2 separate regions of the Homo sapiens genome follow, and region 1 is linked to region 2. Evidence: promoter capture Hi-C in 16 types of primary human blood cells and fetal thymus (Javierre and others, 2016). All regions are on one chromosome and are shown on one strand. The core of a region is centred on a gene start or on the middle of the fragment in contact, and the rest is flanking DNA. Distances in the headings are between cores, read along the strand shown.

Region 1 (5,805 bases), core at 341-2,840, 280 kb before region 2:
GAGGTGTGGTGTGTATTCAAGTATGTGCACTTGCATATATGCTGTGAGATCAACTGGGAAGAATCTGAAATTGGATTGTAGAATTTAGCCTGGACTGTCAGCTCTCTTTTATCTTATTTTTGAGTTTATGAGCCTTACGCCCCATTTCAGATAAATCAGCAGGTATTTGGCACATTTCCTCATCATTCACAGGGATGAAAGCTACGAAAGTCAGTGGCAGGCTTTTGTAAAAGACATCAAATGGGTTAGGAAGTAGGATGATTGGGGGAAAGAGGAAGAAGAACAGGGTAAAGATAACAAAGAAAAGTTTATATTTCGGCTATCTGGAGAATCAAATATTTTTCTAGCAATCTCTAAGCAGAATGTATTTGTTGATTTGCCAAGAAAGCTCTTCACAGATTAAAGCACTAGCTGGATGGCGACACAGGAGTTGTCCCAACTGTCCTTCGGATGCAAGGCATGCCTTTGTTAACATCCTGGAGATACTGACGAGAAACACATCCCTCTTGGCCTCATATTTCTCCCACTACATCCAGAGCCCAGAGCCAGTGTGGTAGATGACCAAAATGACCATAATTCTTTGCTGCTGACTCCCATCAAATGGTGGGGCCTATTCTCCACCCCCTTTAAATCAGGATTGTCCCAGTGACTCACTTTCACCAGCGGGACATGAGCAAATGTGACACAAGCAGAGGCTTGGAAAGAACTTCCATATTGGACCTTGCTCTCTTGCTACTCTTGGAACCTGGAGCCACCACATGAACAAGCCTGAGTTACCCTGTTAGAAGGTGAGAGATAAGTAACACAGTTTCCCTCATTTTTCTAATCAATAGCCATCCAAACTCAGAAGCAGATCTACTTAGTTGATCAACTGCTGGTTGAAAACCAAGAGTGAACCAACTTAGATCAACAGAACACCTAACTGAGCTTAACCTAAAGTGCTGAACCACAATTGAGTTAAACTAGTGTTATTGTTTCATGTCATGCAATTTGGGGATGAAATGTTAACTGACTTGGCTTACAGCAGAGTTTTCCTGAGACAATAGATTTTCACAAAAATTAAACTAAAAGACAATTTAATTTTGAACTATAGACTGATATTTATTTGAACTCAATCTGATTTCCTTTAGTGTCCTTCAGATAACATTTAGAAAAGGGTAAGCACTAGAGGCTATTTATAAATACCTTTGGGAAATGTTCCCTCTTTGGAATTATTCCCATCACAGATGATACATACCTGAAATATTTATAATCAGGTTATGTGTTAAATAATAGATACTGGTCAATGAGCTACATAGACAGTGAGGAGCTGCTATGACTCCTGAGGTTAACCATCAGAGAATGATTACTATGTTCCAAACACTTCACACAAGTTATATGCAATTATTATTATCACTATTTTACATACAAGAAAATTGAGGATAAAGAAGTTGAGTGATAGTTTTGAAATGCTGAATCCAAGATCAGAGGACTTTCTGCTATACCACAGCGCTTCCTTATGCCCTAAACCAAAGGAAAAAAAAAAAGGCCAGGCATGGTGGCTCATGCCTGTAATCCCAGCACTTTGGGAGGCCAAGGGAGCGGATCACAAGGCCAAGCAATCAAGAGCATCCTGGCCAACATGGTGAAACCCTGTCTCTACGAAAAATACAAAAATTACCTGGGCGTGGTGATGAGCACCTGTAGTCCCAACTACTTGGGAGGCTGAGGCAGGAGAATCGCTTGAACAGAGAAGGTAGAGGTTGCAGTGAGCCGAGATCATGCCACTGCACTCCAGCCTGGTGACAGAGAGAGACTCCGTTTCAAATTAAAAAAAAAAAAAGAATTTAATATGCCAAACTCAGGTGTGATTTGCACCAGACCGAAAAAACAGTGATTTAGTAAACTCATTCACTGTGGTATGCATAATAAATTAAGACAAAGGAATCCTCCATTCAGTAGGAGAGCAAAAATAAATGAAATAAGTAATGAACAAACAATAGAGAAAGCTAATAAAGCAAAAAGTTTATTCTTTGAAGATATTGATAAAATAATAAATGTCTGGCAAAACAGATGAAGAAAGAAAGAGAAACACAAATTACTCATATCAAGAATGGAAGAAAAGATATCATACAGATGTTTCAGATTTTAAAAGGACAATAAGAATACTATGAAAAAATTTATTCCACTAATTCCCCAATTTAAAACAAATGTACAACTTTCTTTAAAAATACAGCTTGCTAAAATTGACAAAAATTAGAAAATTTTAATAACTCTTTGTCTATTAAAAAATTAAATTCGCAATACAAAATCTTTCCACAAAGAACACCCTAGCCCCAGATGGTTTTACTGGCGAATTCTATCAAACATTTAAATAAGAAACGAAATCAATCACATGGAAACTATTTTAGAAAATAGAAAAGAAGGAAACACTCCTTAATTTATGCTATGAAGGCAGTGTAACTCTAATAACAAGCTATCAAAAGTTCCAAAGACCTTGTAAGAAAAGAAAGTTACTAACCAACATCTCCTCAAACCATAGACAGAAAAATTCTTAAAAATAGATTAATGGCTGGGTGTGGTGGCTCATGCCTGTAATCCCAGCACTTTGGGAAGCCTAGGCAGGTGGATCACAAGGTCAAGAGATCAAGACCACCCTGGCCAACATGGTGAAACCCTGTCTCTATTAAAAATACAAAAATTAGCTAGGCATGGTGGCACGTGCCTGTAGTCTCAGCTACTCAGGAGGCTGAGGCTGGAGAATCGCTTGAACCCGGGAGGCAGAGGTTTCAGTGAGCCGAGATTGCGCCACTGCACTCCAGCCTGGGCAACAGAGTGATACTCCATCTCAAAATAAATAAAAATAAAGAAAGAAAGAAATAATTAGCAAATCAAATTAAGCTGTATATTAAAAGACCAAGTAAGGTTTATCCTAGTAATGCAACCTAGGATATCTAGGAATGCAAGATTGCATTCCTACAATAACTTAACTAATAAAAAAGAACCCAACTATATAATCATCTCAATAGATGGAAAAAAAGACATTTGAAAAAATTATCACTCATTTATGATTATTTTAAAAACTCTGAGAAAACTAACAGAGGGAATTTCCTCAAACTGAAAAAAGCAGCCCTTTCTGCCAAATCCAAAGAAGCAAAACCAAAACTCTACCATTAATACCATATCAATTATTAAATATTATACACCTTCTCCCTAAGATTGAGAACTAATCAAAAATATTTGCTATAGCCATATTTATTCAACATCGTATTAGAGGTCCTAGCCAGTGCGATAAGGCAAGACAAAATGTTAAAAATATACAGATGGAAAAGTAAAAAGTAAAACTGTCTTTATTTGTAGATGACAGAATTGTTTACATAAAAAAACCCTAAGTAATCTATAAAACAACTACTGGAACTAACGAGTAAATTTAGCAAGTTTTCAGGAGGTGTAAACAATACAAAAAAACAATTATGAAAATAAATTTTAAAATGTAATTTTAAAATACTGTTTCGGCAGCATATAAAAGCATAAAGAATTTGGAGATAAGCTTGACAAAAGGCATGTAAGAATACTATATAATACTGTATAATAAGGCTGAGAAAAATTAATGGAGACCTAAATAGAAAGATATGCTGTGTTCACGGATTGAAAGATTTAACATTGTTTGATGTCAATTCTTCCCAAATTGACCTATAGATTAAAAATTCCCTTTGTCCTTTTCAAGAAAGTGATGGTAAATTCTAAAATATATAAACACACAAATAATCTAGACCAAAAATTCTTGAAATAAACAACAAAGTTAGGTAGCTCAGATAACCTTATCCCAAGGTTGACTACATAGCCTTGGTAATTTATCTAATGTAATATTGGTATCGAGGATAGAAAATTAGATTAACAAAACTGATCATTGAGATTCCAGAAATAAAGACCAATAAACATATGTTAATTGATATTAACATAAAACATCAGGAAAATTTAGTGAAGAATGCATAATATTTTTTAGGACAGAGTAATGAAACAAATAAATATATATAATATATATATATAAAATATATATGGGAAACAATAAACCTTTACCCCTACTTCACAACATATATAAAATTATTTGAGCTAGATCATAGACCTAAATGTAAAACCATAAACTATAAAGCTTCTAGCAGGAAAGATAGTAGACTATCTTTGGTATTTTAAGGTAGGAAATTATTTTTTAGATGGAATACAAAAATATCTAAATATAAAACAAATTAATCAATTGGAATTCATAAAAAACCACCAAAAAATGATAAAAAACAAAAAACCTTCACACAAATATCTAACAGACCAAAATAAAACTGATTAACAACACCGAATATTGGTGGAGCAATTGCAACATTCATGCATTGCTTGTGAGAGCGTAAAATAGTACAATCACTTGAAAAAATAGTTGCACATTCCTTTTTAAATAAACTATACAGAGAGTGATGCCAGTGACATGGCAATGTAAGGACCTCTGAAAATTTTCCCTTTCATAAAACAATTTTTAAAACCTACAAAAAAAAGTCAGAATCAACTTTTTTTGAACTCTGGAAATTAACTAAAAGTTTGCATCAATCAGGGAAGATTTAGTCAAGAAAAACAGCTAAATCTTGGTAAGAACAGTGAATTTCTGGTGTTTTAAATTTACCCTATTTTAATTCTTATCTCTCCCACTCCATGAAAGCCTTGAAAATCAATACCTTGCTTTCTGAGTAAAAATCAGCAGGCTGGAGGCCACCAGAGGGCGCAGAAGAGGGTTGGCATTCTTTCAAAACCTAATTCCCAGAGATTATCATAATTTGACCTGTCTGGTGATTCTCTGGAAGATTCCACTTGCAAAGCTGAGAGTATTTGAACTGACTTGGCACTGGCCCAGTATAAAAAGCTTTTTCTTTTAGGGGTGTTTGTTGAAAACAATTATGGACAATTATTTATTTCTGAGGCTGCCTAAGACAGTAGATAACAGTTGGGGCAAACAATGGCTAAGAACAACAACAACAATAAAACTTTAAAATTAAAAGGAAAAGGTGGGAATAAGTTTACATGGGGGCTTTGAAAAGCTCTGACCAATTTTGGGGAACCTAGAAAGTCACATGCATGTATAAAACTATGGATATGCTCAAAGCTGTGTACATGTTCACGAACAACCAAAGAAGACCCTAAACTCTCACCTCCAGCTAGTCTTAAGATTCTGGAAAGCAGGAAATGAAGATAATGCAGAATTTTAAGCTGCCTGGCTGAGTGTCTAAGGGCTATCCAAACATGCACACAGCTGGAAAACACTGAAAGGCTTATTGCTACCCAGCATTTAAAGAAATGTCTGTCAAATCACTAGTTGACCCCTAAGATAACTGAGCAGAGATTTTAGTGGCCACACACAGCAAGAATACGTCTTACAGAGTTAGTTTACAAAAGTCACTGAAGAAACCAAAAACAGTGACATGAGCAAAAATAACAAATCCTGGAGAGAAGTATCTGATTTTCAGAATTTCCAAATTATATTATTTAAAATATTTAATTTTCAACAAAAAATTATGAAGCATGCAAAGAAATGAGAAAGTATTGTTCATACACAGAAAGAAAGTGATTAATAAAATCTGTTCCAAAAGAAACCCAGATATTACTAGAAAGACTTTTATTCAACTATTTGAAATGTGTTTTTTTAAAAAACTAAAAAAAAGTCTAAAAACCCAGAGGATGTCTCACTAAATAGAGAATGTCAATAAAAAGAGAAATATTTAAAAGAACCAAATAAAAATTCGGAGGTTGAAAAATACAATAACTGAAATAAGAATTTCACTATAGGAC
Region 2 (6,109 bases), core at 58-2,557:
ATGCCTTTGTAAGTGTACGTTGTGTCTTTGCACTTCCTCACATTTACAATTCCTGGACTTCATGATGGATGACCTGGGCTTGTTTCTAGGAAAACAAGCATCTTCATTTCTGCTAACAAATGAATGAGAAGTGTGAGCTGATGGTGATCTGGTGGTTCACCTGGCTCAGCCTGCACTGGCCTTGTTTAGACGGTCTATCAAACCAAATAAGCCCTTATCATATCCAGAAAGCATCTCAATTTATCCCAAACAAAAGCCCAACCATGAACATCATAGTAAATCTTTCAAACAGGAAAAAAAGGGTAAACTACATATTTCCTCCTGACTCACATGGTTCTCCCTCTGCTTACAACACCCATCTGATTACATGAAGGGCTAGGGTACTAAGGTCACTCAACGTCACTCTTCAGCTAAACAGTAACACTCAAAAACACCTTTGTCAGAGAAAGAAGAGAAAGTTTATTTAGAGACACTGGCGTGGAGAGGAATAATCAATGATGATTATGGTGGTCTTGGGCCTGCACCAAAAGCCCTTCTTTGTGCTGGCCCTGGGAGAACACATGGCACAGAAAAGCCCAGATTCAAGCAGCTTCTTCAACCAAAACATTGACATATTCTGCTGACTAAAGAGACAAATAAGAAAATTAAAGATGTACACTCCAAGAACCCACGTGTTTTTCATATAGGGACCTTCCCAACTCAGTTTCCCAGAGATTCCATCAAATACAGACCTTCAAAGAGTTTGAGAGTACCACCTCAAAGAGGTAGGTCCAGGGTTTGTGTGATCTCTCTTTACTGCATGGACAAGATTAGAGGGAGGCTCTACAGCACAAAGAAGACAAGCCATGAGCACAGAAAGCCTGGCTCTTCACAGGACTTGTGGGGAAGCAGGGAGAGAGTTGGGTGGTTGTTTTTTATTGGTGGGTGGGTGTCGGTGAGGGAAGGGATTGTTAGAGAAGTACTGGGGCCAGTCTTTAGAAGGTGAGAGGTGATCTTTGCTTTTGCCAGAGGCATGACAGTTTGGGAGATTGGCCAAGCATGGGTGACAATTCCTCAGTCCTGAGAGTCTCCTCTGTAATCAGAAAATGTCATCAATACCTTGTCCTCCCATTCCTTTTCAGAGATAATTTCCTTTCTTTTTGCCTCTGTGGGGAATATTTCAGATGACATGCTGAACACCTATACCTGCAGGCCTTCACCATCTTCTTCTGTTCCTCAACTCTGGTCAGCATGAGGTTTTGGTTGAAACAGCAAGATCTGCCTGCTCCTACTGTTGTCCCTCTCTCCTACCGCAGGTCCATTTGTCCAAAGCAGTCCACCCATCATTCCCTTTATATAGTGGCTTATGACACGGGCCCTCCTGGTAAAGGGACATGATGATTGATGGTGCCTTGTCACAATGGCTGAAAGTCAACATGAGAGCTTGGTTGAGTGGTTGGGGCAGTACTGAAATGTTGGATAAAATTAAGAAAATGCCTAGTAGGACTCCTTAAATCAGCTGGCTGCCTATCAGCCAGCCCATAGGAACCCCCAAGAATTACAGAAACCAAGCAAAATTCTCTATGCCTTTCAAACCCAAGTCTAGCTTTTTTTTTTTTTTAAAGAATAACCATTTATTAAAGTAGATACAGAACACTTGTTTGGCCAAATTTTAATACTGCTTTACATGTTTTGTTTGTGAAACAATTCGTATTACATTTATAACCAAAAATTTCAACTGGTAACATATTTAATATTCACTGTCAAACACACAGTTGATAATCTTGAGGGGAAAATACATGAAAGGCATATATACAATTATAGAAGCTCTTATTGTACATGTAGCATATTTTGATCTCCAAGTCTAGCATTTTTAAAGCCTTTGTCTGCTGACACATTTAGGCATACATTCCTGGTTTCATTGCCTTACTTCTAGAAAGAGATCTTGAGGGAGGATTTGAACAATGTACACTTTTTAAGTGAATTTATTGAAGTATAATTGATAAACAATAACCTGCACATATTTTAAGTGTACAATTTGATAAGTTTTGACCTAGGTATACACCCATAAACCATTACTACAAATCAAGATAAAAAGTACAATTAAAGCTCTAGTCCAGTTCATTTTTTAAATCTACTACCCCTGCCCTATCCCCTAGAGCCCCACAGAAATATAGCTTCAACTTCAAGAAGCTTGATATCTGGCCAGAGAAGCCATCTTCTACTGGTAGATATAAAATGTGACCAAATGAAGAAGTAACCATAGAGTATAGGGCCTTTGTTTTGAGTCTTGAAGCACATTTGGAAGTTTAATAGGTGAAGATGAAAAAAATAGTACAAATCACTGAATTTCCTATGAAGACCTGTACTTTTTCTACTTTTTAAATAACCCAGTTTGGTTAGAACAGAGGTTGCCTGAAGGAAATAATGAAGGACATGGCTAAAAAGCCAGGTTGGGGTTGGGGATGGGGATATGGAAATTGAAATGCTGTAGTCAAAATGTCTACATCTTGTTTCACTGGGCAGCAGTTTGCATGAAAAAAGAGACTCCAGCCACCTCCACAGTGATGTAGTCCAAAGGCTGATGAAGGGCTGCCACCTGGCATCATGGAAACATGGGCCTCATAAAGGGGGAAGAGCCCAACAACACACCTGGGCTTCAGGCCTAAGTAATGAAGCTCTGGGTGGTGCCAACCAGAAGGGTCAGGTTGGCAGGAAGGTCCCAAGAAATGTCGTCTCCTCTCTTCCTTAAAAGCCTGGTTTCAAACACACTTCCTGAACAAGGGCTGTAGTGATTCACCCACTTCAAGAAGGCCAACTTCATGTTGAGGCCATAGTGGGTGGAGGGGTGGAGGTGATCATCCAAGCATCCCCCAGTGTCCCTCTAATATCCCACCTCTTGCAGATGCCCAAGAGGCAGAGAATGCTACAGTTCTCTTGTCATTCTTTTAACATAAGACCTAAGGTTTTAATCCTGGGTAGGGCAACAAAGGCAGGAAAGAAGAGAAAGAAAGAGAAGGAGGTGGAGTTGTATTCAAACTACATATGTGATGCTGAGCTTAATGTATTCTAACTCTTCTCTGATTGTCAGGTGCTCTGCAGGAGTCACCTAAGGTAAGGACAGAGAAATGAGATGAGGTTCCCTCAAGCGGTCACACAGTGCCTGGCGCTTAGTAGGTCCCCTAAAAGTGCTCTGACCACCTCAAGTGTCGCAGCTTCCAGTTTTGCATGCCTTACTTTCAACCCCATTCTTTCCTGAGTTTTCTTCTGTTCTCTCGGTCTCCTTGCCCTGCTCTCTCCTCTGAAACACCCAATGGCTGATAAATCCCATAACTTTGTCTCTAGAGCATCTTACCTGCCCCTGGAGATTCAACCACACAAAACTCTACCTTGCCAGTGCCCAAAACTACATCCCCAGCCTCAATTGCTCTTCTGAGCTACAGATGCCTCTATCCAATTTGTCTACAGGGCATCCTTGGGGACCTCTCTGGTAGACATTCAACCTATGCAAAACTAAAACCAGTTTTTTTCTGTTCACATCTATTTCCTGCTCCTGCATCTACTCAGCAGTCATTCACTATTCACTTAGGACAGAAGACTAGGATTAAAACTTTACCCCTCCACATAAATCACGTCAGTATTTTATAACTTATCCCTTCTTCAACTCCATTGCTGGCTTGGGTTAAATGGCTTAATATCACTAAAGAACTTACCATATTGCAGGCACTTTCCTGCAATAGATAACAAGTTAGAATTCAAGTCTTTTGTTGATAGCTGTCTTTATGGTGAACATTAAGTCAAAGATATCACCCTCTGGGTAACTGACCGTCTTCCTCTGCATCCCTTCTGTGGCAGCAGTTAGAGCATACGCACTAAAATTAAGTAGATGTGGATCTAAATCCCAGCTCTACTGTTTAGTATTTGCACATCCTTGAGCTATTTCCTGAAGCTCTGAGCCAGTAAGGAGGTGATCTCCAACTAGGTGTTTAGTCTCCTCATTGGTAAGATAACAGGATTGCCATTAAGCCTGAGTCCTCTCTTTAACTTATTGAAGATTTTTAAGGCTGGGAGCAATATAATGATTTGCCCACATTTGGTAAGTTGAGAAACTTGGATCCAGAAAATCAGTCTGACTAAATATTGGAGAAAATCATCTCAGGTCCCCTGCTCAGCCCTTCTCTTGTAGATTGGTTCACTGACCTCATATGGCCTTTGTGATATCCCAGAGAGGGGAAGACCAAGTCACAGTGGCCTAGATTCTCTGCAGCTGGGCTCCTTCTGTCTCAGAGCTGGGAATACAATCTTCAGGCAAATGACTGGAAAGCCTCCTTCAGGCCCCTAACATCTCCCAGCAGTAAGTATGAGCACTAAGTGTGTGCATTCAGCCACACTAGGATACAGCAGAGCTGCATGTACCCCAGGACTCAGCCAGTTTCCTACGGGAGCATAGAAGAAAGTACCACTAAAGGAGAGCAAGGAGAAGGAAGAGGAAGAGGGCAGTGATTGGCAAGGCTTGAGGGTAAGAGTAGGAGGAGTGAAGACAGGAGTAGTACCAGCTACGGATGGAGGATGTATGTGAGGAGGGGAGAGGGGAGATGGTCATGGAGCCAGTAATGAAGAGACTAAGTCCATTCTCAGGCAAATGGCACAGCCTCAGTATGAAGTAAGTCATTTGCAAGTATTCATGAATCTCCCATTATGAATAGGAGATCTGACCAGCTTTCCTGGATTATAAAGGTAAACAAGATAGGGATTTTTCAATTTAGTTATCTGGTATTTGCCATAAGTAGTGTCTTAAGTGAGGCAGGAGAGACAGAGTGGGCTTCATAGTCACGGGACCTGTGCATCACAAACGGTCTTGTGCCCACTTACCCACACTGATTCCAGATTTATGCTCTTCTGTCACCATCTTGAAATTCTTAATAATTTTTTAGCAAGAGGCTAGCATATTCATTTTGCATTGGACTTCACAAATTATGTAGCTGGTTCTGGGGAGACATAATTTTTTTTATCTGGAGCATGTGGAGTCCTAATAAGCAACAACAAGGAAAGGGCGCAAGATGGGGGGAGGGCCGGCCCCAAGTTGGAGGAGAACAGTAAACAATTGTTCTGAGAAATGGCTAAACACAAAAAACCTGTGGGCATAATGACCTCCTTCCCCAGATAGACCCAGCAGCACAACCTCATTCTGCACATAAATCCTATAAAACTCCCCTCTAGCCCCTGCCTCTTTGCAGACAGCCCCTTCTCTGCTGTGCTGCCCATTGCTTTCTTGCAACATACCTTCATACTTTGTCTAATAAATCTGCCTTTCTTTACCTATGATTGTCTTGGTAAATTCCTTTACTGCCCACAACACCAGCCCCAGCTAGTCACACCCACAAGAAAGCAGATGTCACAGGAAGTAGCAAGTAAGCTAGGCCAAACCAGAGCTAAAGAGGTAACAAAATCATAAGGGAAAATTTGGAAAATGTCACGTTAGCCTTGTGTGCCCATCTGAAGAACTTCCTGAGGTTCTCCTGCTCTAACCAGGGACTTTTAAACCTCAGTTTTGTCTTTCCTCTCTTGCAGCATGAAGAAAGTGCACTTTCACTGTTGCAGTAGTCTTAGAAAACAAATATTTCTGCATGGTGACACGGTTCTTACTAGAACCCCAGAACATCTCCATGGTATGACCTACCACATTTCCTCCCCACCAAAATAATAATAATAATAAGGCTACACAGTATCTGGAATTTCTTGCTCATTAAAATCTGATTACTACCACACTCAAAAGCATCTGGGTCTTTCTTTGGTCCTTACTAAAAACAAAGGCTTTGCTTTGAACATTTCTCCAGGCAAGTCCCATCTGCTCCCCCAGAACAAGAATGTAATGAAGAAGGAAGTGTTACTAAACCTTTGTGCTTTGGACCACAGAACTTTAGAATTAGAAAAAGCAGCAAAAGATCTACTTTTTTCTTTTTATTTAGTATAAATACAACTAAATCTACTTTTTGAGATCCCCAAATATGAGTATTCTGCCCCAAAGAACAATGCGGAAAACTGACAGCGACACTGTCAAGCAAGCCTTCATTGCCAGCTCTGTCTCTCAAGAGTTTCAGGACATGTAGTAAAATTATGTTTTGAATCT

What was found. Contacts are between HindIII fragments. The CHiCAGO score rates a contact against its expected background, and 5 or more counts as called.
Region 1: a contact is called between a fragment that was not itself captured here and the fragment with the promoter of TESHL in region 2, in 1 of 17 cell types (erythroblasts). The highest score is 6.6, in erythroblasts.

Annotation. Positions count from the first base shown.
Region 1 is chr2:217,141,784-217,147,588 of GRCh38, reverse strand. No RefSeq gene overlaps it. Among named protein-coding and RNA genes, the nearest start is that of DIRC3-AS1, 140 kb to the left of the region's middle. The HindIII fragment of the contact is 3,882 bases long and covers 1-3,531 here.
Region 2 is chr2:216,865,970-216,872,078 of GRCh38, reverse strand. TESHL (testicular germ cell expressed HSF2 interacting lncRNA) reads right to left here and starts at 1,307. Exons shown (of 2, transcript NR_130782.1): 1 at 1,099-1,307; 2 at 440-623. It overlaps LOC105373876 (a long non-coding RNA gene), which reads left to right and starts at 4,270. Exons shown (of 2, transcript NR_135525.1): 1 at 4,270-4,498; 2 at 5,551-5,747. The HindIII fragment of the contact is 5,034 bases long and covers 1-2,174 here.